7 separate regions of the Homo sapiens genome follow, and regions 1, 2, 4, 5, 6 and 7 are each linked to region 3. The links are contacts of gene promoters, found by promoter capture Hi-C in blood cells and fetal thymus (Javierre and others, 2016). All regions are on one chromosome and are shown on one strand. Each heading gives the region's core, a stretch centred on a gene start or on the middle of the fragment in contact. The rest is flanking DNA. Distances are from core to core; before and after follow the strand shown. Region 1 overlaps URI1 (URI1 prefoldin like chaperone). Region 2 has its middle 7.3 kb from the start of UQCRFS1-DT. Region 3 holds the start of POP4 (POP4 ribonuclease P/MRP subunit). Region 4 has its middle 88 kb from the start of URI1. Region 5 overlaps URI1 (URI1 prefoldin like chaperone). Region 6 overlaps URI1 (URI1 prefoldin like chaperone). Region 7 has its middle 12 kb from the start of UQCRFS1.

What was found. The method cuts DNA at HindIII sites, captures the fragments that hold promoters and counts their contacts. A CHiCAGO score of 5 or more calls a contact.
Region 1: a fragment that was not itself captured here is called in contact with the fragment with the promoter of POP4 in region 3 in 7 of 17 cell types (naive CD8 T cells, naive CD4 T cells, activated CD4 T cells and 4 more); the score reaches 9.3 in naive CD8 T cells.
Region 2: a contact is called between a fragment that was not itself captured here and the fragment with the promoter of POP4 in region 3, in 1 of 17 cell types (total B cells). The highest score is 5.4, in total B cells.
Region 4: a fragment that was not itself captured here is called in contact with the fragment with the promoter of POP4 in region 3 in 6 of 17 cell types (naive CD4 T cells, naive CD8 T cells, total B cells and 3 more); the score reaches 8.8 in naive CD4 T cells.
Region 5: a fragment that was not itself captured here is called in contact with the fragment with the promoter of POP4 in region 3 in 7 of 17 cell types (naive CD4 T cells, naive CD8 T cells, non-activated CD4 T cells and 4 more); the score reaches 10.1 in naive CD4 T cells.
Region 6: a contact is called between a fragment that was not itself captured here and the fragment with the promoter of POP4 in region 3, in 6 of 17 cell types (naive CD4 T cells, non-activated CD4 T cells, total B cells and 3 more). The highest score is 8.9, in naive CD4 T cells.
Region 7: a fragment that was not itself captured here is called in contact with the fragment with the promoter of POP4 in region 3 in 1 of 17 cell types (total CD4 T cells); the score reaches 5.6 in total CD4 T cells.

Annotation. Positions count from the first base shown.
Region 1 is chr19:29,960,144-29,963,905 of GRCh38, reverse strand. All of the region lies in intron 1 of URI1 (URI1 prefoldin like chaperone), which reads right to left. Among named protein-coding and RNA genes, the nearest start is that of URI1, 20 kb to the right of the region's middle. The HindIII fragment of the contact is 4,223 bases long and covers 52-3,762 here.
Region 2 is chr19:29,218,534-29,222,477 of GRCh38, reverse strand. No RefSeq gene overlaps it. Among named protein-coding and RNA genes, the nearest start is that of UQCRFS1-DT, 7.3 kb to the right of the region's middle. The HindIII fragment of the contact is 2,711 bases long and covers 380-3,090 here.
Region 3 is chr19:29,603,881-29,607,800 of GRCh38, reverse strand. POP4 (POP4 ribonuclease P/MRP subunit) reads right to left here and starts at 1,518. Exons shown (of 7, transcript NM_006627.3): 1 at 1,476-1,518. The coding sequence starts at 1,482. RefSeq lists an enhancer at 1,376-1,865. The HindIII fragment of the contact is 1,017 bases long and covers 1,076-2,092 here.
Region 4 is chr19:30,028,309-30,032,235 of GRCh38, reverse strand. No RefSeq gene overlaps it. Among named protein-coding and RNA genes, the nearest start is that of URI1, 88 kb to the right of the region's middle. RefSeq lists enhancers at 1,319-1,818, 1,884-1,933. The HindIII fragment of the contact is 670 bases long and covers 2,043-2,712 here.
Region 5 is chr19:30,009,798-30,013,508 of GRCh38, reverse strand. It overlaps URI1 (URI1 prefoldin like chaperone), which reads right to left. Exons shown (of 11, transcript NM_003796.3): 9 at 2,273-2,415; 10 at 978-1,224. Among named protein-coding and RNA genes, the nearest start is that of URI1, 69 kb to the right of the region's middle. The HindIII fragment of the contact is 3,913 bases long and covers 1-3,592 here.
Region 6 is chr19:29,977,379-29,980,755 of GRCh38, reverse strand. All of the region lies in intron 2 of URI1 (URI1 prefoldin like chaperone), which reads right to left. Among named protein-coding and RNA genes, the nearest start is that of URI1, 37 kb to the right of the region's middle. The HindIII fragment of the contact is 1,029 bases long and covers 1,579-2,607 here.
Region 7 is chr19:29,199,248-29,203,067 of GRCh38, reverse strand. No RefSeq gene overlaps it. Among named protein-coding and RNA genes, the nearest start is that of UQCRFS1, 12 kb to the left of the region's middle. The HindIII fragment of the contact is 1,654 bases long and covers 1,119-2,772 here.

The sequences.
Region 1 (3,762 bases), core at 914-3,413, 360 kb before region 3:
ATTAGTTCAGAAGCCTCCAAGGAAATATGGTGTAGTGAGCAAAATCAAGCTTCCAGATGAAAGCCTGAAGAAACCAGAAGCAGCAGATGGCTTACTAAAACAACAACCTGGCCTTCACTCCACCCAGCACCTGCCCGGAGTAAGGTGACCAGCTCCCACTGCATCTGCTTCAGTAGAAGAAAGGACGCGCCTTTTCCAGAGGAAGTTATCACCTTCAGGAATATCTACAATCTTTAAAGACACAATCCCAGGATTTAGTCAAAAATAACTAGGATGCCAAGAAACAGGATCATATGACCAAAAGTCAAAAGAAAAAATATATAAAACAGAACCAAACACACATGCAATCTAGATACTGGTGTTAACAAACATAATGATTAATATGTTCAAGGAAATAGAGGAAAAGATAAAAGGAATATATTTTAAAAATAGCAATTTTCACTAGAGAACTGAAATCTACAGGAAGAAACCAATGAAAATTGTACAACTGAAGAACCAAAAATTAAAATAAATGGCATTAAAAGAAGATTAAACAGCAGAAATCAGGATTTTTGAACTTGACAGGTCAAAAGAAAACACCAAATTAAAGCCCAGAGATTCAAAAATAAAACATGGAAAATACAGAAAAGACCAATAAGAGACATGTGAAACACAGTGTAAGTGCAAGATCCAGAAAGGGAAGAGAGAATGCAGCAGAAGCAATATTGAAAAGATCTTGAATTCTGGATTTTCTAAAACTGATATCAAAGTATCAGCCGATAGACTGAAGAAACTCCAAGAATCCCAAGCAAGAGAAGCACAAAGAAAATTTCAAGGCACAACATAGTTAACAGTGATGAAAACCAAAGAAAAAGGGAAAACTTTATGTGCAGCTGGGGGTAGGCGGAGGAGGCACAGGGGAGATTCACAGCCTTCAAAGGAGTGACAAGACTTAGAGCTAGAGCTAACTTCAACATCAATGACAGAAAGTGAAAGATAACAGAGTATCTTGAAATGCTGGAAAAAATAACTGAAAATCTATAGTGACATACACAGCAAATAGATCCTCCAACATGAAGGAAAAAATAACATTTTCAACAGAAACAGAATTCTGCACCAGCAGACTTTCATTAAAAGAAATACGGTTTATTAAACTAGACATGTTGTTAATAAAATGTCTTATCAAAAAAATTATTAAACTAGATATTGTTATTAAATAAGTGTGATCGGTTAAAAAAAAGACAGCAACAACAACAAAAAGGACTCTTCAGAGTAATATAAATGCAGAAAGAATTGAAGAGTAAAGGTACAGGATAAAAAAAAAAAAAGATGGGTAAAGATAAATCAATATTGACCACACAGAACAATTAAATACAGTGTTGTGGTGTTTAAAATACGTAGAATTAAAATGCATGGGAGCAATCATGCAAGAGGTGGGCTGGATAAATGAATGAATGCTATGATCTCTAGAGACACCAGAGACTTACTTAGTGAAAAGGAATTGTAAAAAAAAAAAAAAAAAAAGATACTATAAATACATATTATATTTAGTACTAAACCATAAGTACAGTATAAAAGTAGTAAAAAATAATGTATCACAAACAAGTTAATAGGAGGAAATAACAATACAAAATGTTTGATCCAAAGGAAGGAAAAAAAAAAAGCAGAGAAAAAAGAACATAAAAGTACATCAATTAGAACTATAATGGGGAACCATTTGACACTCCAGTAATGAGGATGGTCCTTACAGAAAACAAAAACAGCCAATGCAAATGCCAAAAGTTGCCCAGTATGTGGACTGGAACCCTTGTGAATTTGTCCGGGAATGTAAAATGGTACAGTCACCGGAGAAAGCAGTGTGGCAGTTCCTTAAAAATTAAACACAGAATTACCATATGATCCAGAAATTCCACCTCTGAGCATACCCAGAAGAATCGAAAGCAGCCGGGCGCAGTGGCACACGCCTGTAATCCCAGCACTTTGGGAGGCCGAGGTGGGTGGATCACCCGAGGTCAGGAGTTCGAGACCAGCCTGACCAACATGGTGAAACCCCAACTCTACTAAACACAAAAAATTAGCCAGGGGTGGTGGTGCATGCCTGTAATCTCAGCTACTTGGGAGGCTGAGGCAGGAGAATCACTTGAACCCAGGAGATAGAGGTTGCAGTGAGCCGAGATTGTGCCATTGCACTCCAGCCTGGGCAACAAGAGTGAAACTCCATCTCAAAACAAACAACAAAAAAAAAAAAAAACAAAAAAAAAAGAATCAAAAGCAGATACTTAAACCAAACACCCATGTTCACAGCAGCATTACTCAAAATCACCATAAGGTAGAGGCAACCCAAGTATCCATGGATGCTAAAATAAACAAAAACGTATAATACACTGCATAATACATTCTATAATACAATGGAATATTATTCAGCCTTAAAAAGGAAGAAATTCTGATATGTGCCACAACGTGGACGAACCTTGAGACATTATGGTAAGTGAAATAACCCAATCACAAAAGGACAAATACTCTATGATTCCACTTAAAGGTACTTAGAGTAATCAAATTCATAGAGACAAAAAGTATAATAGAATGCTGGCAGCCAGATCAGGAAGGGGAAGAATAGAGAGTTATTGTTTAATGAACAGAGTTTCAGTTTTGCAAGATTTAAAAAAAAAAAAAAAAAAAGGCCTGGAGATGGATGGTAATTACGGTTGATCAACAACGTGAATATACCCAATGCCACTGAACTGTATACTTAAAAATGATTAAAATGGGCTGGTCATGGTAGCTCATGCCTATTTCCCAGCACTTTGAGAGGCCAAGGCAGGACGACCGCTTGAGGCCAGGAGTTCGAGACCACCCTGGGCAACATAGTGAGTCCCTGTCTATACAAAAAAAAAAATTTTTTTTTTTAATTAGCTAGGCCCAATGGCATGCACCTGTAGTCCCAGCTACTCAGGAGACTCAGGCAGGATCACTTGAGCTCAGGAGTTCAAGGTTGCAGTGAGCTATGACCATACCACTGCACTCCAGCCTGGGTGACAAAGCAAGACACAGTCTCTTAAAATAAAATTATTAAAATGGTAAATTTTGTTATATTTACTACAATTTTTTGAATAAAAAATAAATACAATGTACGTCTAATAGAAAGGTGATAAAATTAAATATATCAGGAATCCTACTACATATAATGGCTTAAAATACTCTAAATAAAAGGAAAAGATATCTAGACTGAATATTAAAACCACAACAATATGCTGTTTATAAGACACACTTCGAACCCAAAAGACTGAAGTTAAGAAGATTTTTTTTAAAGATAGACAAAACAAACAAATTTAGCTGGTGTGACCATACTAATACTAATATCCAACAAAGGAGACTTGAAGGCAAGTAGCATTACTAGAGATAAAAATATCTCAGAATGGTGAAAAGGTCAACTGACCAGGAAGTTTTTACAATTTTAAATTTGTATACAATGAATAACATAGCTGTAAAATATATAAAGCAAAGGTTAAAAAAAGAGAGAAAAATAAATCTATAATCCTAGTGACTATTTTAATACATATCTCAATAAATGATAGAATTAGCAGACAAAAAAATTAACAAGGACATAAAATACTGGAACAACATATTCAAGCAGCCTGAACTAACAGACACATACTGAACCCAAAAACTGCAGGATTAACATTTTTTTCCAAGTAAATTATGAAAAATTTACCAAGAAAAAGAAAACATTAGGTCAAAAGGCAAGACTTAAATTTCAATTATGCAGAATGTGTACTCTGACCA
Region 2 (3,944 bases), core at 486-2,985, 390 kb after region 3:
GTGCTGTCTCCAGGATCCCTCTACCTTGTCTGAAGTCCAGGGCTCCCGTGACCTCTGCCTTCCAGTGGCACCTGCAAATTAGACCCCATTCTCTTAGGGTCTGAGTTGTCTTCACACAAAAGTGCTGAGAAGGGACTGTTGGTGTCTGGCAAGGTATTTTCCTCTCCATGTAGCAAAGCTACAAGAAAAGGGGGTTAGGGTAGAGTGTACCATTTGGGATCTGAGCTGAGAGGGAACCTAAGACTTGACCTCTAGAACTTTCAAATATTCACATTCTATTCCCTAGATAGCAGAGATCTACCTAGAGCTCCTGTCTCTTGCAGGGCAAGCCAGGGGAATGATTGCCTCTCTCAGCAGGAGCCGAGAGAGGAGAGAAGCTTCCCTCCACGGATGCACCTGCCCAGCACTCGGGTCCTAGGATGTTGCTCCACCTGGATCAGCGGCACCATCCCCAGTGCCTGCCTTCTCCTCTAATGCCTCCAGGTGATCTCTTGTGTTCCTCACCCTTCCCATCCCTCCTGACCCTGGGCACCTCCACGATCCCTTCTGCCCAGGCTTTTGGTTCCTTCTCCCCTCAGGGTCTCACTGACTGCACTCCATTCTCTCTCTGGAGCACAAGAAGCCTTATATGCATTTGCTGACCCCTTCAGCCAGCACAAATTTGCCATCTCTCTCTGCGTGCCTAAAGTTCCATTACAGGTGGAATAGAAGAAGCCCGGTCACTCTTACACAGCTGAGGATGCAGCAATACTTCTTCGTGGAGTGCAAGACTCTATCCCTGCCTTAAGGAGTTTATTTGGTGGAGACAAGGCAGAGGAGAAGGTAGGGTGGTTTATTCCAGCCTAAGAGAGGGCATCCACAGCACATCCCATAGCCGTCCAGAGGAAGGGGACTGGAAATAGGACAGTAGCTGTAAAATACTCATCCACACAAACTGAGCACCGCCAGAGGCCATGCCAACATAACCGAGTTCAAGCCGGTACCATGCACTGCACAACAGCCAGTACGTCAAGAAACAAGGAATTGGGTCAAGGGAGGGGGCTTTGTTTTGGAGAGCCAGCAACCGAGAAGGTGGTGGGCCAGTGTCCTAAAGAACCATCTGAAGTTACTATGAATTTCAGCCTCCTTTTATGTGGGAGGAGAGAGGGGGTTGAGGTTAGGATGTGACCGATGACAGCGGACATCTGAGCAGCAGCAAGGGTCTGAGGGGGCTGGAGACGTGTTTGTCCTTGGTCAGGTCCCAGTGCTCGTGTACATCTTTAACACACAGTGTTGCTCATGGGACGCCCTCCTTATCTCCTTGGGGGTGAGTGTTCAGAAGGAACTGTGGTCTCCTTGCTTTAAACTAGAAATGAAAGGCCTCTCACAGTTAGCTTGGTTTATGTGCAGAGATCAGCAAGAGCAGTTAACCCAGAAGATGTCACCAGAGGAGGTGGGTTAGGAGCAAAACACTTGTCACATGAGGGCTTCTTTTCACTGCTCCACCAAGGGCACATTCTTGCCTTCCCCTTTATACACACTCCTGTTACCCCCATCTTGCCAGGAGGCTGGACGTGTCCCCAGGTCTGCCCAAGTCCACCAGGGCTTCCTGGAGGACATGGAGTTCATGCTGGACCTTGACCCGGAGAAGAATGAGGCAGAGGATAGAGGGGGCTCCAGGTTAGGCCCAGCACAGGGCCAGGTGGGAAGGAGAGTAGCTTTGGCCTCTGCACAGAACCACCAGGTCCATGGTCCAGTCTTGTCTCTTCTGCCAACCCCATCCCTTCCAGCTCTGGCATTCATGGAACAAATCATCAGTTATTTGGATTCAAATCTGACAAATTAAATTGCAAAGAATTAAATAAGTTGTAGATCAATACTGTCTAAATGATCAATTAATCATTCCCTGTAATTAAAACTACCAATTCCTAATACCTTTCAGTTAAATTTTATTGCACCATTTCTAATTCAGAGCTTTTCGGCAGTTATATTGATTGCAGGTATACTTACCTGGTAATCAAATAATTTATTAATCAGCATACTTCATTATGGAATATCTGCACATTGACTCAGAAGGCTGGTTTAGTTCAGCCTGAGTTTTATTTTTATTTTATTTTATTTTTTTGAGACAGAGTTTGGCTCTTGTTGCCCAGGCTGAAGTGCAATGGCATGATCTTGGCTCACTGTTACCTCCACCTCCTGGGTTCAAGTGATTCTCCTGCCTCAGCCTCCCAAGTAGCTGGGATTACAGGCACCCGCCACCATGTCTGGCTAATTTTTTTTGTTTTTAGTAGAGACAAGGTTTCACCATGTTGCTCAGGCTAGTCTCGAGCTCCCTCAGGTGATCCACCAGCCTTGGCCTCCCAAAGTTCTGGGATTACAGGCATGTAATATCCTGCCCAGCCCAATTTGAGTTTTATTTTAAAGATGCTGGAGGTTTGCCATTACCTGCTTGTATACGTCACACAAAGTTCCTTCTTTTGTGAAAAATAATTGCAAAAAAAATAGGTGTGTGTACTTAAAAGCAGGTAAATGGATAAACTCAAGTGGTTCCTCAAAATTATGTTTTAACCGTAATCTTTTTCATGGAGGTTTTGCAACTTAATTTATTCCCAATATGCTTAGAAAAGTGCTCTCAAGATTCAGGGATGAAAAGGCCTTTGGGAAAATGGGTGCTACCTTCATTAGTACCTTGAAATACAAATTAAATCCCAAGCACATCACAATTTGCTTTCCTGCATCTACCAATTTTGAAATAGTACAAATAAAATGTCTTACTTACCTCGTGAATTTATTATTTCAGCTGTTCATGCTGGACACCTGGTGGTTTGATTTAACTTCCCTTAATGTTTTGGGGCATCATTAGGAGAGGGAAATGAGGACCTGTAATTGTGTGTGCAGACCCTGCAGGGGCCCTGGGTGGGCTGGAGCCTCCTTTCTGCTCCCCTTGCTCACATTCAAGGTCCCCAGGGCTGTCTGGGTTTGTCTTGGAGATTCAGGGAGCCAGCTCCTCCCCAGAGAGAAGAGGGCTCTGGTGGGCTTCCCTCTGCAAAGACAGAACGTGGGCATCAGTCTCTGGATCTCAGCTTCTCCTGATTGATGGGCAAAGCTTCCACAGAGGTGTTGAGCTGGGTTGCAGCTGAGTGGATCCAGCACTTCAGGCTTGAGAACAAGATGACTGAAGGTAGGGAGCCATAGGACCACTGAGAAGGCCAGAGGTGGAGGTGGGAGAGGGGCAGAAACTGACATTACCACCTTCTCTGTCCTCTACAAACTGCCCAAGGACTTTCAGAGCCATACTCCTTCAACTTATGCCCCACACCCCGAAATCTTCCTTCCCTCCAAAAAATGTTCATTTCTCCATCAACACAGTTCATCCTAGACCCGTCTGTCTCAGAGTACTCCTCACTCTGCAGGGAGAGCTGGGGGAAGTCCCTAACAGCACGCAGAAAGGATGGCAATTTGGAACACGGAGTGGATCACATGCCGAGGGCTTCCATGCAGTCACATGCTTACACACCTTCTACCTGCATCCTCACAGAGTCCTCCGGGAGTTCCAGCCAGCAGCTGAGCAGCCGGACGGCACCATCCTTGCTCCACTTCCCTGCTTGCTGGCTCTCATTGTCCTTATTCTTGGAGAAAGAAAGTCCAAATTCTTAGCACAGTGTGCAAAGCATGAGCCCTCCAGGTCAGGGCCTGAATTAGGTGATCTCTGAGTTCCCTCTGAGCCATAGCACCCTGTCCCACCAGCCCAGGACTCCCTGCCCCTCGTCCTTTCTTTCCTCCATAGAACGTACCACCATCTGGTATATTACATGTTTGGTGGTTGTCTAGCTTCCACCACTAAAATATAAGGTCCTGGGGGCCACACGCATTTGACTGCTGTGTTTGCTGCTGTCTCTCTCATCAGCAGTGGACACACAGGGTTGCATACAGTAGTCACTGTACACAAATCTTCTGAATGG
Region 3 (3,920 bases), core at 269-2,768:
TATGAAATTATAATGTGTCACATAATCGATGGTGTCCTGAACTGATAAAATACAAGTTTTTCCTTTAAACTCAAAATATACATTGGTCAATAAAGTTTCAACCTCTAAAATAAATTCCACACTTCTGTTTCTTAATTTTTTGAAAGAAGAAAACCATGGCACTGGGGACAGAGTACAGGTGTGAATGGAATAAGAATGGGACTACTAAGGCCTGGTTTATGAGCTAAATAGCTAGAAAATGTAATTTACACTATACTCTGTAAATTTAATTCCAGCTTTCTTGTACTTCCCTGAGAATGTTTGATGCAAGGTGGTTACAAGTTTTTTTTTTTTGTTGTTTGTTTGTTTGTTTTGATACTGGGTTTTGCTCTGTTGCCCTGGCTGGAGTGCAGTGGCACAATCATAGCTCACTGCAACTTCGACCTCCTGGTTTCAAGTGATCCTCCCACCTCAGTCTCCTGAGTAGCTGAGACTACAGGTGTGTGCCACCACACCTGGCTAATTCTTTTTTTTTTTTTCCAGTTTTTGTAGAGACAGGGTCTCGCTATGTTGTTGCCCAAGTTGGTCTTCAACTCTTGGCCTCAAGTGATCCCCCTGCCTCAGCCTCCCAAAGTGCTGGGACCACAGGCGTGTCCCACCACACCCAGCCAGGTATGTTTGTTTGATCAAGCAAACCAATGTGGTTGCAAGTTTTATATATAGCATCTAGTTCTCCCTCAAATGGAAGATGGGGATTATAAACTGTAGAGAGCAACTTGCGGGGCCTGATAACTTTGCTTCATCTGTTACAGGTGCTTAGTAACAGACTTGGAAGTCTTTCTGCAACAATACACATCTAACAATTACTGAACATCCATTACTTGCCAGAAACCTCATTACAAGGTACACATATTTTTTCTCATTACACTTATGTGCATGAGCAAACTGAAGCTCAGACATGCCGAGACAATCTACTTGATCATATAGGTAGAAAGTGGCAGAGATGAAAAATAAAAATTCTGATTGAAGGCCCAGTCTTAACGGTGTCTACACGCCCCTCCTTGGCACATGTCTTCTACCCCTAAGGACCAAAGCTTTGGGTTAGTGATATCATTCCCCAGCAGCTCTCGGCGCTTTGCATCAGGTTAAGAGTGTGAAACCAGCTCGCAGAAAGGAGCAGGATCTTGACCGCGGTCACCCCGGGAGATAGTGGCCAAGTTGAGCCAAGGCCTGGAACCCTCCTCTAGCATCGCACACCACTGAGCAGCCTCCGGGAGAACCTGCCTCCAGCCCTGACATCCCTCCCTAGCTCAGAGGTCGAGCCAGGCTAACCCGTGCTCCAGCCCTCAGTTTTTCTTAGGTAGGGTGGGCCCATTCCTGTAGCGGTTCTGTTAGGACTCCGCAGCAACAGGTAGCCCGGACCCATTTCACCCACCAGTACCAAGACCCCGACCCTTAACGTCCCCAACCCTCTCCAACTTCGCGGCCCCGCTTACTCTTCATTCTCGGACCGCTTCCGGCGCTCTCTGATGACGCACTGGCAGCTGCTGTCGCAGACTCTCGGAGCTCGGAGATGGCGCTATGCGTGACATCACCGGCGCTCGCCCACCTCGGGGGCGCATGCGCCTGGAAAGGGATTCGGCTACTGAGAACGTCGTAGGCGGTGTTGCTGAGCAGTGGGGAGGAGTGGGCTCGCTTCCTGGGGTCTTTTCCGCCTGCATCTTTTGGGGGACAGGCAGTAGGGTTGGGGTAAAGGCATGTGGAATGCTTGCTAAGGCCTGGAGTGGAGCGAGGCGAGGCGACTTGGAGAGGACTCGAAGGAGGTTGGGGATCTGGGAGGGCGGAAATGGGACGGGGACGGTGGGGTGAGGTCTTTGTCGTCCCTAATCAGCGCCCTTACGGATGAGCCGAGGCAGCTTCCGCTGTGAGCACGGGCACCGAAGCTGGGACAGCAGGCTTAGGTTCTAGTTCCGTGTCTGCTGCTAACTAGCTGTTTAACCTCGCTTAGGGCACTTCCCATCTGTAAGCCTCACTTGCAGTCTGTGCTGTGAGTGGGGTCGGCCTCACAGGTAGTGATGCGCCGCCTGGGTCCCTTTGATAGTTTCAGAAAGCTTTCTTGAGACTCAGAATATTTATTAGTTTTTATCAATAAAAAAATCATAGCAATAAGATCAAAGGTGGCTCACACCGTGGGAGGCGCAGGCGGGAGGATCTCTTGAGCCCAGGAGTTCGAGACCAGCCTGGGCAACATCGGGAGACCCCATCTCTACAAAACATTTAAAAAAAATTATCCAGGCGTGGTGGTGCGTGCTTGTAGTCCCAACTACTCGGGTATCTGAGGTGGGAGGATCAGTTGAGCCCAAGGAGTTTAGGGCTGCAGTGAACCTGGATTGCGCTACTGCACTCCAGCCTGGGTGACAGAGTGAGACCCTGTCTCCAAAATAAATAAATAAATTCCATATAAATAAATAAATGAATAAACAAACTCCATTGCTCAGTGGAAAGGTGCAGGAAGGCCTGGTGCAGACTTCTCAGCAGTGACCCAGTGTTGGGCAGAACTGTGGAGCCCCAATTTCTGCTGAGCACTGGGCCTGTGCTGGGTGGGAGAGAAAAGAAATACGGTCCCTTTATGCTAAGTCAGTGGTTCTCAACTTTGAGTACAGTATACATTTCTTTACAGGGGATTCTGGGAGTATGTCCAAAGGTTTTAGTTTGAGAAACATTGGCTTAAACAATTTCTTTGGTGGTGACCTTGTACCATTTTGATTTTAAACATTAGACTGCAGGCACTGAAATTGGTTCATCCCAGTGACCCCGCGTGCATTGACTTTATAAAATTTATGTATTAGTTTTTGCATATGTAGTACACTTATGCATTTATTTTATACGTATAAAATTTGGAAAGACCACATTTAAACCAAAACATGCTGCCTTTGCAGATGCCTGAAAATTGTAATTTATGGGACTGATAGAGAACTTTTATTATTTTTAAAATTAACCAATAAGAATTGTATGTATTTATGGTATACAATATGGTTTGAAATGTGTATACATTGTGTAATGGCTAAATGAGCTATGAGCGATGCTAATACACTCATTTTGTGATGAGAACACTTCAGACCTACTCTCAGTGAAATTCAGGTTATTAACTGAAATTCACTGTTATTAACTATAGTCACCATGTTGTACAATAGAGCCCTTCACAAATGTGAACTTTAAAATCAAATGAGACAGCAGAAGATGTTAGCCAGTTTCAGAGCTGTGTACTCAAGGGGGGCCCTTTTAGGCAAGACCTCTGTGATTATGGAGATTAATGAGAAGACCTGTGTCTTTGAAAGTTTTTTTCTAGGGTTGTTAGGACTCTTAACTCCCAGTTGACTCCTTCTGGGATCCCTGGATAACTGCCAGTCTCCCCTCGAATTCCCTGATGGTGGTGGGGTGGGTCGTCCTTGAGTTGCAATTACAACATAGTTCCTTCATCATTAAAATATTTTTTTTTTTGAGACGGAGTCTTGCTGTGTTGTCCAGGCTGGAGTGCAATGGTGTGATCTCGGCTCACTGCAACCTCTGCCTCCTAGGTTGAAGTGATTCTCCTGCCTCAGCCTCCTGAGTAGCTGAGATTACAGGCACACACCACCACGCCCAGCTAATTTTTGTATTTTTAGTAGAGACAGGGTTTTACCATGTTGGTCAGGTTGGTCTCGAACTCCTGATCTCATGATCCACCCGCCTCGGCCTCCCAAAGTGCTGAGATTACAGGGGTGAGCCACTGCGCCCAGCCTAAAATATTTTTTAAAAAGCAAACAAACAAAAAAAATAAAAAGCAAACAAACCACTTGATTATTCTCAGAAAATGTTTCTGTATGCAGAGAGATACCTGTGAGGATGTTTGTGATTTTTGTTTATAATAGCAAAAACTTAAAAACAATGCTATATTTGAT
Region 4 (3,927 bases), core at 1,128-3,627, 420 kb before region 3:
ACCCAACACAATATGGGAGGAGAACAAAGTTAACTGACATTTTCAGACTTCAAGACTTACTACAAAGCTACAGCAATCGAGACAGTATGGTATTGATAAGAGAGAAACAGGTCAATGAAATGAAACAGACAGCTCAGAAACAGAGCTACATAAATACAGTCAACTGATCTTTGGCAAAGGAGGAACGGCAATGGAATGGAGCAGAAAGTCTGCAACAAATAGTGCTGGAGCAACCTGACATCATATGCAAAACAAATCTAGACACAGACCATACACCCTTCACAAAAACTAACTCAAAACTGGTCACAGACCTAAATATAAAATGCAAAACTACAAAACTCTAGAATATAGGAGAAAAATCTAGATGACTTTGGATTTAGCAATGGCCTTTTAGATATGACAGCAAAGGCATGATTCATGAAAGAATAAACTGATAAGCTGGACTTCATTAAAATTTCTGCTGTGTGAAAGACACTGTCAAGAGAATATAAAGACAAACCACAGACTGGGAGAAAATATTTGCAAAAGGCATTTCTGACAAAGGATTGTTATCTGAAATACACAAATAAGTATTAAATTGAACACAATAAGAAAACAACCTGACTAAAAAAGGGGCCAAAGTCCTTAACAGACACCTCACCAGAAGACACACAGATGGCAAATAAGCATCTGAAAAGATGATCCATATCATGTTTTATCAGGTAAATGCTAATTAAAATGACAATGAGTTACCACTACACACCTATTAGAATAGCCAAAATCCAGAACAGTGACACCACCAAATATTGGCTAGAATGTGGAGCAACAGGAACTTTCATTCATTGCTGGTGGGAATGCAAAATAGTACAGCTAGATTGGAAGACGGTTTGGCAGTTTCTTACAAAACATAGTCTTACCATATGATCTGTCAATCATACCACTTGGTATTTACCCAAAGAAGCTGAAAACGTATGTCCACACAAAAAGCCACACACTGATGTTTATAGCAGTTTTACTTGTACTTGCCAAAACTTGAAAGCAACCAAGATGTCCTTCAGTAGGTGAATGGATGAACTGCGGTACATCCCGACAATGGAATATTATTTTCAGATCTATCAAACCATGAAAAGACATTATGGAAACTCAAAGGAGAACGAAGCCAATCTTAAAAAGCTAAACATTATGTGATTCCGACTACATGACATCCCAGAGAAAGCAAAACTATGGAGACAATTTTAAAAATCAGTGATTACCAGGTATTGGGGCATAGGGACGGATGAATAGGCACAGCACAGAGGATTTTTAGGGCAGTGAGACTACTCAGCAACTATAATGGTGGATATGTGTTCTTATATATTTATCCAAAGCAACTGAATGTCCACCAAGAGTGAATTCTAATACAAACTATCAACTTCGGGTGATGATGTGGCAATGGATATTCAACTACTGTGGCAATGGATATTCAACTATTGTAACAAATGTATCACTCTGGTGGGGATGTTGATGATAGGGGAGGCTATGCAGGTGTGGGAGCATGGGATATATGGAAAATCTCTGTACCTTCTGCTCAGTACTGCTGTGAATCTAAAATTGCTCTTAAAAAACAGACTTTTAAAAAAATTAGACAAAATTATCAAAAACAACTACTTTTCACCTCTGAGTATTGACCAAAACATAGGACAAATGGAGAAGTGTTTATTCAAGAAAACTACTGAAAGTTGGGTAAAAATGATGACAGTATGTGGCATTGTGACCACTCTCCCTCACCCCAGCTCCTTCAGACAATAGTTCTAACAGGGTGGGACAGCTTGTAAAACCAGAAGCATTTATACTGTAGGGAGCTGACTCAATCTGAAACAACGTGGAAAAACCCAACGCCCAGGGGCTTTGTTAAATATAGCAATTTCAGTGCCAAACATAGGAGAGGTCCACATACATCATAGATGACCTGAAGCTGAAATACTATAGCTGGGCCAAAAAAGAGATCAGAAGAAAAAAATTTTCTGCCTGGAGATTTAACAGAAACAATCAGGAAGTGAGACAATCATAGTCCTTGATAAGCTTACATTTTGAAAGGTAATGGGCATATTAGGGTATGAACATGCTGAGAGACCAGAGAAGGCTCTAACTATATACATACCCCCAGGGAAGACTCGTAAACTGCATAAATTTTCAGTGTGTTCCTCAAACAAAACAGAGACTTTGACAAAGGATGAAAGTCTTACCAAAACAAGATGCCTAAGTACAATCTCTGACCAGTCACCAGCTGATCACTAAGATATATTGATCCAAGGTGACCCATAAGTAGTCAAACATAACTGAGGAGAGACATCAGAGGCCACACGCTGTAGAGAAAAACTCATTATTAATCTTGGCCAAGTCATAAAACAAACAAAAAAAGGGACAATAACCCCTGGCAGGAGAGTATCAGAAATAAATGCTGTTACAATGTATTATTTAAAATGTCCAGTTTTAAACAGGAAAGTATGGCTTATCTAGTATAAAAAAAAAAATACTCAGTATAAACAGAAGCTATTTCCAAGGGTTCCCAAATGTTGGACTTAACAGACAGACTTCAAAGCAGCCAATAAAAATACATCTTCAAAGAACAAAAGAAAACCGTGTTTAATCAAAGCATGAAAACAATGACTAATCAGAGAACACTTAATAAAGAGATCAACATTTTTTAAAAAATGGAAATTCTGGAGTTGAAAAGTAACTAAAGTGAAAGCTTCATTAGAGGGACAACAGCAAACTTGAATGCAGAAGGAAGAATCAGTGAACTCAAAGATAAATCAATACAAATTACACAATCTGAAGAACAGAAGTGAGAATGAAAAATGAACCAAGTAGGAAATCTGTGGGTTACAATCAATACCAACATATGCATAATGGGAATCCCAGAAGAAAAGAATAGTGAGGGCCATACAAGTTTTGACATCTTTTGAAGAGTCATAGAAGTTTTTAATGTCTGAAAACATTCCAAATTTAGTAAGAAGTATAAATCTGTATATCCAAGTATCTCAATAAAATCCAAGTAGAATAAACATTAAAATATCCACACCGATACACATCAAAATCTTGAAAGCAGCAAGAGAAAAATGGACTTATCATGCACAGGGGAACCCCAGTAAAATTAGCAGCTGACTTCTCAAAAGAAACAATGAAGGCCAGAATTAAGTGGTATAACATACTCTACTGTCAAACAAGAATTCTAAATCCAGTAAAACTATCCTTCAAAAAAGAGGACAAAAATAAAGATCTTCCCAGATAGACAAAGAGAATTTGTTGCCACCAAAATTTTTTTTACAAGATATGCTAAAGCAAGTACTTCAGGCTGAAAGGAAACACCACCAGATGGTAACTTGAATCCACATAAAAAATTAAAGTACCAGTAAAAGTAATTATGTAGGCAAATGTAAAAAATAGAAAAAATACTCTTTTTAAGTTTTCTTCTCTTACTTAAAAGATAATTGCATGGAAAAATAATGAACCCATATAGTTATAAATAATAAACCTGTACTGTTATAAAATATATTACAATAATAGGACAAAGGAAAAAGAGACTAGAGCTATGCTGAAGCAAAGTCTGCCAGAATTAAGTTAGTATTATTCTGACGCAGGTTATAATGTTACAATGCATCCTATAAACTCTAGAGCAACCACTATAAAATAACTCATAAAAAAGAGTAAAGCTCTCTTCTACTATGTGAGGACACAGGAGGCCATCTGCAGCCCAGGAAGAGAGCCCTCGGCAGGAACCAAATCAGCTGCTAACCTTGACTTCCCAGTTTCCACAAATGTAAGAAATAAATTTGTGGGTTTAAAAAAAAAAAAAGTACAGTTTCTTTTTGTAAAGGAATTCAAAGTTTATACTAAAAGATTTATTTAACATACACAAAAAAAGGTAACCAAGGAGGAACAGAGGAACAAAAAAGACATGACATA
Region 5 (3,711 bases), core at 387-2,886, 410 kb before region 3:
ATCCATTACCTGTTTTCTAACAGTATGGAAGACTATCAAATAAGGTAAGATACTTTCCAGGTCACCTAAGATCATTATACTAAGAAGAGGGGAAGAAAACATTCTAGTCATATGTACTGTCCCTAAATGCTACCAATCTCCATCCCCAATTACCATTTAATACACTGAGTATAATACCATTTAGTAAAAGCAATGGAATTTTTAGATAAGGTTATATATATGCATGTATCTTATTGTATATACAAATGTGTACACTGGTTTGATCCAGGCATGGGTTCCCCAATCTTCCTAAATACTTTTTAAATTGAAAACTTCAAATACGCACCAAAACACAAGAATGAAGAAATCAATAGCCTTATATTTCACAGACATCCTTATTTGGGGATTTCCTAACCTCCCCTGCACCACCACCAAAAACTGTAAGAAGTGTGGTGGGTGAAAGTGTATTGAGTGTGCACTATTTTTTCTATGGACAGGGTCTACAGCTTTCATCAGATTATAAAACAATTCCATAATCCCCCAAGAGTTAAGTTTCACTGGTACAAGGTAAAATATTAGACTTTAGGTAATTATCTGCTATGCATGCATTATTTTTCTTTAACTTAGCCAAGGTATTTAAAAGAGAATAATGTAATCTGCTCCTTACACTATCAGAAAATGACCTACTGGTAATTTATTTAAAATAAACTGCGAAATAATTTCCTAGCTACAAATGTAATACATAATGCCAAGTAAGACATTTTAAATTTCCCATTTTGCTGAAATAGAACGTTAAGACAAGTAATGTGTTTATCAAAAAATAAACTATTTGATTATCACAATATTTGTACTGTTTGTGACTATTAATTTTTTATTAATTAGTACCAAGAAAGTATAAAACCTAGAATTAATTTAATCTTATGACTTTTCAGATTAAATAGCTAAAACTGGTCAAAGATACTATATGAAATAAAGAATTAAAAGATACACACACACACCTCAGGTGTTACTGATAAGGGCAAAAGTTTCTTTTGATTTTCTTGTGGTTCCTCTTCCAAAATGCTCTCACTGGTGTCACTGCAAGTGGCTTCTTCGCAGCTGATACTCCTCAAAACTCCCCGCCTATCATCAAATTCAGCAGCACTGCTTTCACTAGTGTCGCTACACACACTATTCTCTCTACTTCGAGACTTCAGGATGGATTTGCGAGGGACATATTCTCCATTCACAACATCAACAAAGGCTCTGTGATATTCAAAACACATATGCATTCACTATACGTAACTCATAAAACTGAGAACAACTTTTTGAAAATTTCCTTGAATCTATTCTAGAAATTAATCTGAAAATTTTTATTACAATCTTATATCTAAAATAGTCACAATCACAATAATTTTATAGCCTCAAATGGTATCTTCATACTATTTTGAAAGCTATTTCTCTGGCCTAATAATAAAACACAGCATGTTATTTATTTATTTTATTATACTTTAAGTTCTAGGGTACATGTGCACAACGTGCAGGTTTGTTACATATGTATACATGTGCCATGTTGGTGTGCTGCACCCATTAACTCATCATTTACATTAGGTGTATCTCCTAATGCTATCCTTCCCCCCTCCCCCCACCCCATGACAGACCCCGGTGTGTGGTGTTCCCCACCCTGTGTCCAAGTGTTCTCATTGTTCAATTCCCACCTATGAGTGAGAACAAAAACACAGCATGTTATTTTTAAGCATGTCCTAGGTGGCAATAGCATGGTTTGCCAAAATTCTACATAAAGTTTTAGACCCACGTATACATTTAGCAATTTTCACTGATTTATAAATAAGGGTCATAAAAACAGTAGGTATTTTCAAGTGATAGTTTTCTCAACAAACAATTCCAAAAAAAAGGAAAAAAAAAAAAAACCTGCAACAGTATAATTTCTACTCTGAAAAGGTAAACTGCATGCCAAGCATGTTACGGCTGTGGTAGAAACGTAGGGACCTAGCCCACTGGAAACAAAAATGCTTTCTGAAGATACAAGATTTTCTGACTAGACCATTTGGAAATGTTTCAAAAGCACTGGTGAAGAGGAGAAAGTGAAAAAAAAAAAAAATCCTCCATTCCCACTGCTCTGGACTGGGAAGCTACAGCCGGTCAGCCTATCAGATCCTAAGTTAACTCCTCAGAACACTTCACTTTTCAGTGAGGGTCTTCTGTGTTACAGTCAACTTTCTCCAGTAAAGGTTCAGTGGCAGAAAGAGAGGCAAGCCCAGCAGACTGCCCTGCAGCTGTGAGCGCCTCCCACCTGTAAATGTCTGCAGGCGTCCTGATGGTCGGCAGCTCCTGGGCAGAGTGGCCACTGCCAGTGCTGTTCTTTCGTTTACGTTTGGCTTCTTCTTTCTTTTCACTGAATTTTAAAGTGGTATTCTTTCCAGTATTTATTCGGACCTAAAATTTCAGAGCAAGAAATTAAGAATCTTTTGACAAATTAAATCAAAGTGAAACCAAAACAAATAAACTCTATAACTAAAAAAATAATAGTAAGAGAGGCAGCTGAAATTTTCTGATGCTGAAATGATGTGCATTATCAGATGGAATTTTTTAAAAAGTCCTTATCTCATAGATCTATGACATCTAAAGAAAATCTTCTTTATTAACAAATCCTAGTCTTCAGTGTCTTTATTATTGTAGAGAAAGCAAAATACATTTGAACTAAATGCTAGATTTCTTATAAACTTCCCATCACCCCATTCCTTTGATATAAGTGTTTGGCTTGAATTATGTATTTCAAAAGAAAGAGTATAAACAAAAATTCAGTAAGAATACAACCTTTAAGTCATAAAAGTACTATTAAATAATGCCTATTTAGAATTTTTAAAACATCTCTAATTTTTAGAAATTGAAGGAGTAAAAAAATAAAAACCAAGCCTGTTCAGGGTTCACATGGGGTTAACATGTTATTTTTCTATCCCTAGTCAGCACTTAGAGCATACTTTCCACAATAATGACCACTATTACCTGTAACGTTCCTGCAAATAATATTTGTTCTTTCTGTTTTATCTAAATGAAAACAGGAAAAAAGTAAAAGCCTGGCAAAAGATTAAAAAGCGACCTTTTTTTCTGGCTAATCATCTCAGTCAACTTTTCCCGAAGAATCAGGGGAAGACCCCTTCAGTCTGACATATTAGAATATAAAAACACAAACAATTATTTCACTTCATATAGGAGCAGGAATAACTTTAGGAAGCTAAGAAATATCAAATATGTTTTAAACATATTTCACTAAATAATAATCACACACACTTAAGAATGATACCACAGACCCTTAACTGATACAGGCAATCGGGATATTGTGTAGAAAGGGCACTCAGAGGCGAAAGAGTTCCTGTTTTGTTACCAACCAGATCTATGTCTTCTAGGCCTTAAATTTCCCTGAGAAAGACGAATTAGACGAATTCCCAGTGTCCCCTTAGAGCAGTACATGGAGCAGAGAGAGGGCAAAGATGGACTTAAGGCAGCCTATCCTTCCTTCAATCAGAGCCAAGCTGCTTTGATCTATTTTAAATACTGGGATTCTACAGTAAGTATGGAGGGAACAAAAGGCTTTTCATACTAGAGAAAAGCTTTAAAACTCTGTATTAGAAAATCTCCAGTCACCCCCAGCTCTAAAATGCCAAAATTCTAAGTCATGATTATCCACAGATGTTTATATTTACTTTGTCAGAAAAGAAACTAATTTTTACT
Region 6 (3,377 bases), core at 844-3,343, 370 kb before region 3:
GAGACGGGGTTTCACCATGTTGGTCAGGCTGGTCTCGAACCCTGACCTTGTGATCTACCCGCTTCGGCCTCCCAGAGTGCTGGGATTACAGGTGTGAGCCACCATGCCTGGCCCAGTTTTTTTTTTTTTTTTTTTTTTTTTTTAAGAAAAAAAATCTTCTATCACTCTCTTTTCCTCTACCTAACATCCTAAACAGACAAGCAGAAAATACTGTGAGATGCCTAACGGGGAAAGAGGAAAAAAATTTCTATATAAGTGTTAACATCTGAGTTAACCTGGGACAGAGTTAAATTTTTATTTTTTAATTTAAGAAACGATAAAAACGGAAGATTCTGGAATATATACAATATATAACCTTCTTTAGAAATAATTTTTAGTCCATCATACCCACCCTACAACTTCCCATTAAGCATCCAAAAAAGACTTGTTTCAATTGAATCCACCATTTACTGAGCAGCTCCTCTACAACAAGCCTATGGCATATGCTGCAGGGATCATCACTCACACATAGCATGCCTTTCTGATTGTTTGTTGATTGTTTTGCAATGCATCTTTGTCAAAGATCCACTAGCTTGAAGGATGCCTGGCTTTTCACCTCTAAAATCAAGAAAATAGAGGAATATTAAGTTTGGGCATGGATTCTATATAGATAAAGAGATGTCCTCCAGTTACTAAAGCAAGAAATAATGATTTTTTTCAAAGTATCCTTTTAAACAATCTAAACAAATTGATAAAAGTTACATTTTATTTAAAAATTCTTGAAAAAGGGATCTATACTGTTATGCTTTATGCAATTTGGTGGGAAAAGGAACACTCCTCATGGAAAATTTAAATGTACTTGAATTAAATCAATAGCATTACACTTTTTTTCTAAATGGTCATGGCAAAATATTCAGTAATTTCAATTGATATAAGTAACTGAAATGTACCACAAAATTCAGGCAGAATGGTGGTATATTCCTTTTTTATAACTCTATTATACCAAGGAATTTATGTCATCAGAAGATGCTGATGAAATAATCTATGTTCTTTATATTTTATGAGTCCATCAGAAAACTTTACTATTAGACATAGATACCAAGATTAACCCGCATATAAAAACATAATTTTTCAAGTCAATGAAACAAAATTATCTAAAGAGAGATGCAGCTAACATTCTACTAGATTTCTTCAATTTAACTTTTCAACAATGAGAAAACAGTGCAATGGATATATATATATAGTAAGCCTGGACAGAAAAATCTGTTCTACTGTTCTCTCTACAACAACCATACACATGTGTTTGAAGACTTGTCAGTTATCACAGGTGCCTGTTTCTTCACTCATTACTAATCTTTTGCTCTAAGAAAATGAGATGTGAATTCAAAGCAAAAAACCTTTAAAATTATGTAAAAACACATTCATCTACGTTTGAAAGAAATATCCTAAAGTGCCTAGTTAATTTTTACTGATGAGTTTATATGTAATTTTTGTTCTTTTTATTTTCCAAATTTTCTATAACTAATATAAATTCCTATTACAAATCAAAGGAAAGGACCTTTTAGAAAAGGTGTGATGAGTTTATAGCTGACTTAAGCTTTGAAAGTTTGTGCAAATTTCTACTTAAATCTTACCGTAATTCATAGGTTTTGCTACTTTACACTTTCTATATTTTCTTTCTAAAGCATATTTTAGAAAAAAGTAATTTTGTGGGTTTTCTTAATTACAGTAGCAATTAAAAAACCCTTTTAGGTCACTGATCCCTATGAGAAACTAGAAAAACTCTAGGCTCTTCCCTGAGAAAAGAACTCATATTTTACATATAGTTTCAGCAGAGGCCCAATCATAGATACCTCCGGGTTAAAGTTTCTCAAGAGGTTTTACAACAGTGAAAAATGGCAATCCTGGTTTTGAACCTACCAAATATTTAAAAACCTCAAAATTATCAACTGACTTAAAAATAAAAGAAAAATGTGAAAACCCTCACCAATTTGATCATGAGTTCAATATGAATTAGTAAAAAGTAAATTATAGGCATGCCTCCATTTTTCACAGCCTACATTTCTCTCAGGTCTTACACTGATACCCACCCCAATCTGTCTTTGGTATAGTGGAATCTGGACTTATATTTCTCAAAATAAGAACAAGCACTCAGGATTATCACCAAGTGATGCACTTCTCAGACAAGCACTGTGGTTGTTGCAATATTCACATCTTCATCCTCAAACAGGACTCTGTGCTTAAGAGTTTTATTGGATGTTACTCTTCATAAAAAAAAATGGAAAATGAAAAAAAAGTACAAAGAAGTACAGTTTTCAAACCTAATACAGTTGAGACAAAGATAAAAAATCATGAGGTGTGCCCAAAGCAGTAAGCCCTAAGCCCTTTGCCTCAGTCAGATACTGGACTTGAGCTGGTCATGGGAAACTGAACCAAACCATATTGACACTGGAAACACGTCGTCATCAAGGACTATTCTAGGTGATGAAATGTGATTAGGGATTTTTTTTAATAATAGTTTAAAACTCTTCAGGGGAAAAAAACTCTCCTATAACATGTAAGTTTTCCTTTCATTTTCAGAAGTGCGTTAAACTAGCTGGTTGCTTCCAAAAACATGATATAAAAGCTTGAGGACTCCTACAAGTAATAAATTCTAATTACAAGTTAAAAATCATTTAACTCTTTAAAAAGAGAAGGAAAAGAAAAATGCATTTACAGTTTGACCTTAGTCACATAAATACACATACAGAATTAAGAAGCTAGAGGGAATAAAAGGGAATGTTTTAAAAACAGGGAGAGAATTAGCTTCTCTTTACAATTATGAGTAAATTTATCTTTATTCCTTTCTTATTTCAACTTTTCCATAACTAAGCATGCATTCATTTTATATTCAGAATAAACATTTAAAAACCTAACTCAGATTTAAAAAAAATTCTTTAAACATTCAACTTGAATCTTTTTTTTTGCCTCTTAATTTGCTTTGAAACATTACACACGAGTTCCAAACTCACTTAATCACTAGCGCATGTACTAACTCACACCATTTTTTAAAACTGTGCAGAAACTTAATGACAAGATTTGACATATATGATTCTTCCCCCTTATCCCTAAGACTTTCATAAACAACTACAGAAACTCCAACAACAAAAACATGCAAAATTTCCAGAAAGTTTGGCAGTTGCTCTCTGCTCAAGAGGAGGGAAAAAAAAAAAAAAAAAGAAAAAATAACATAAAGAAAAAGCCCAAACAGAAGGCCCTCTACAAAACAGTGACTGAAAACTTTGTAGTCAGTAAAATACAGACTCTGAAAAACACAGTTTACAAATCTACCTAACACTGTAGAAAAAAGTCATTGGCTTTTACAAGTTTTAAAGGTATGCAGATCAATATTTCACATA
Region 7 (3,820 bases), core at 696-3,195, 410 kb after region 3:
GTTTTTAGTCCAGATACTTAAAGAAGACCTAAATACACCACAAAAGGAAGACTATTCAATTGCTTGCTTCTGTGAGTGCTTATGAAATAGATTATTATAGATCGGAAATCTCTGGTCTGTGGCACAAGATTAAAGTTAACTTTGTGGAGGGCTTCAGCAATATCTCTGTAATAACTCTTCCATAATGATCAACCTAAGACTGGTCTATCAGTGAAGTGAAAATCCTAAATTCAATAAACTACACTTTATATTTTTGCAGCTATTATCCCAAACTTGGATCAATTTGAGTGCAAAAACTTAACCGTCATCTGGCTTTTGAAATCCTTATTTTATTAGAATATTTGCAAAGGTAAGAAATCAAAGTATCTAAGTAATAGGTTTTCATACATTTTTAAAAGGGCAAACAAAACCTTGGTTTCTTAATGGAAGGGAGAGGAGAGCTAATGCATTTCACAAAATAGGCCTGTCTAGATTGAGTATCTGAAATCTGCCATTTCCTGCATTGGGGCATGGCTAAAATTTTAACTCGTGCCTCTTGCTTTATCTGAGGGAATACTTGCTTTCTTAGCTCTCTCCTCAAGACACACTCTGCTGTGGTCCCTTTCAGCCCTTTGGAGAGACAAGGCATTCCTGGGGCCCCAGTTGATCTCAGTACATGAAAATCAGGTTAGAGGCAGTGTTCCTCTTAGTAACGGATTATCTATTATACCATTTTAAATATAAATTTCAAATGAAATAGTGGGTAGAAAAGGTATATCAACTGTAAAACAAGATACAAATGCTCAAAGCATTATTTAACGAGGCAGTAAATGGCATTTAGAATGTGATTAGGTATACAGAAAGGCCACTTAGGTGGAGGTAGACCCTACTCAGAATGCGATTCTGAATCAAAGGTTGGTATTAATCCTGCATTCTCATAATACTTTGGCCCCTGGAAGTTCAGATTTGCATGTGTACATAGTTTTGATGTTAATGGAAAGCAAAGCTGAATTCATCCATGACAGTGGTTCACATTGTAGTGTCCCCCTCCTGTTAGCTTTGAAGAATTACTACTAATTGGCTGTAAAAGCTGGTTCTTTGAAATGATCAAGAAAATATATAAGGCTTTTTGTAAAGCTTGATAACGAGAAAAATGAGGCAAAGCAAAAATATATAAAATGAAGAGCCAGCCATCCTCACTTGATGGAAGAAATTAAAATAATAAAAACATGCAACTCCATAGTAACAAAGTTGTAAAAACCAGGGGATACAGATGACTTCTTAGCGAAAATATAAAATGCCAAAATTAGCCCAAGAAGTAGAAAACTTAAACATACCAATTAGCATAGATTAAGTATAAAAAGTTACCATGACTGAATGACTTCATAGCTGAGTTCTATATGACACATTAAAGAAAAGATAATTCCAATTTAAACTACCAGCTCGTTCAGGTCAGAGCTTTTCCAATTTTACTGTGCGTGCAATTTACCTGGAGATCTTGTTAATGATGCATATTCCGATTCTGTAGGTCTGGAATAGGGCCTGAGATTCTGTGTTCTAACACTTTCCCAGGTGATGTCCATGGCAGGCTAAGAAGTTCAAGGGTGAAGGGGCTGCATTTGGTGAGGGCCTTCTTGCTGCTGGGGACTCTCAGCAGAGTCCCAAGGTGGTACAGGGCATCACCTGGTCACCTGATGAGGGGGCTGAGCATGCTAGCCCTGGCGTCTATCCTCTTATAAAACCACTTAATCTACTTCTGTGATAACCCATTAATTCATTACTTTGTGAATGGACCTAATCACCTCTTTAAGGCCCCAGCTGTCAATACTGCCACACTGGGGATTAACTTTCAACATAAATTTTGGAGGCGACAAATATTCAATCCATAGCATTCTATAGAATGCTCCAACAATTCATTTTGTGAGTTTAATGTAAATTTAATATTAAAACCTGACATTAAATATCAAAAAAATCAGTATCATTTACTGAATTAATGAAATTTTCTAAATAAAATACTAGTAAAAGAAGTCTAATAATGCTGCAAAAGAATAATAAACTTTGAGATTTATTCTAGGAATGCAAGGTGGTATCAACACTGTCTATTAAATGAACAAAGAAGGAAAAATAAAGACAACAATAGATGTGGAAAAGCTATCCCTAATATAAATAGGAAATAATTAAAATAGAGGAGTATATTTTATTTATTTATTTATTTATTTATTTATTTATTTATTTATTTATTTAGAGGCAGTCTTACTCTGTCGCCCAGGCTGGAGTGCAGTGGCATGATCTCGGCTCACCACAATCTCTGTCTCCCAGGTTCAAGCGATTCTCCTGCCTTAGCCTCCCTAGTAGTTCGGATTACAGGCACCCACCACCACGCCTGGCTAATTTTTTGTATTCTTTGTAGAGATGGGGTTTCACCATGTTGGTCAGGCTGGTCTTGAACTCCTGACCTCAGGTGAGGAGGGCAGATCACTTGAGGTCAGAGGTTCGAGACCAGCCTGGGCAACATGGTGAAACCCTGTCTCTACTAAAAATACAAAAATTAGCTGGGCTTGGTGGTGGGTGGCTGTAATCTCAGCTACACAGGAGGCTAAGGCAGGAGAATTGCTTGAACCCAGGAGACAGAGGTTGCAATGGGCCAAGATCATGCCACTGCACTCCAGCCTGGGCAACAGAGCGAGACTCTGTCTCAAAAAAAAAAAAAATTTTCCAGGTACTCTGCCTGTGGGGTACCCTGCCCTGTCTATGGAGCAGACATTTTTCTGTATTCTGTTGTTCTAATAAGCTTGCTTTGCTTTCACTTAAAAAAAAAAGTCTTTTCCTCAAATTAACATACATTTATTAATAATAAACTTCCAATTAGACTCTATACAGCATTTTGTTTTGATCCAATTTGTTTAGGATAAAATGATCATAAAGCTTATATAAAATAAATATCCAAAAATATCCAAGGAAAGTATGAAACAGAAGAATAAAGATTTGAGAAACTACAGTGTAATTATTGTAGTTAATATGACATTGGCATGAGGACAGATGGGTCAGTGGACAAAATAGACTATCAAGAATGAGATTTCAAGCTACAAGAATTTAATACAAGAAAGACAGGATTCAATTCAGTGGGAGAAGATTGGTTTATTTAATAAACAGTGCTGGCAACGCCTACTATTCATTTGGAAGAAAACAGAGATGGACCCCAGCTCCTATCATGCTTAAAAATAAACTCTAGTGGGATTAAAGATGCATGTAAAAAAAATTTTTAAGGAAAAATTTTAGGAACTGTACATGTAGTTTAAATGGGGAGAGGACCTTCTTAATCATGAAAGGACACTTAAAACCTATAGCAGAGGCCAGGCATGGTGGCTCACACCTGTAATCCCAGCACTTTGGGAGGCTGAGGCCAGTGGATCACCTGAAGTCAGGAGTTCAAGACCAGTCTGGCCAACATGGTGAAACCTCATCTCTACTAAAAATAAAATAAAAAAAAAATTAGCTGGGCGTGGCAGAGGATGCCTGTAATCCCAGCTACTCGGGAGGCTGAGGCAGAGAATTGCTTGAACCCAGGAGGTGGAGGTTGTAGTGAGCCGAGATGGCGCCACTGCCCTCCAGCCTGGGTGACAGAGTGAGACTCCATCTCAAAAAAACCAAACAAACAAAAAACAAAACAAACAGAACCTATAGCAGAAAAGATAGGCCTATTTGTATTTTTTAAAATCTTGAATTTCAAAAGATACTAGTCAAATCAGATGAAAATAGATTTGTAAAATAAAAATTCTAAGCCCAATGAAGAGTTGGTATCTATAACATACATAGAGAGATCTTATAAATTGACAAGAAA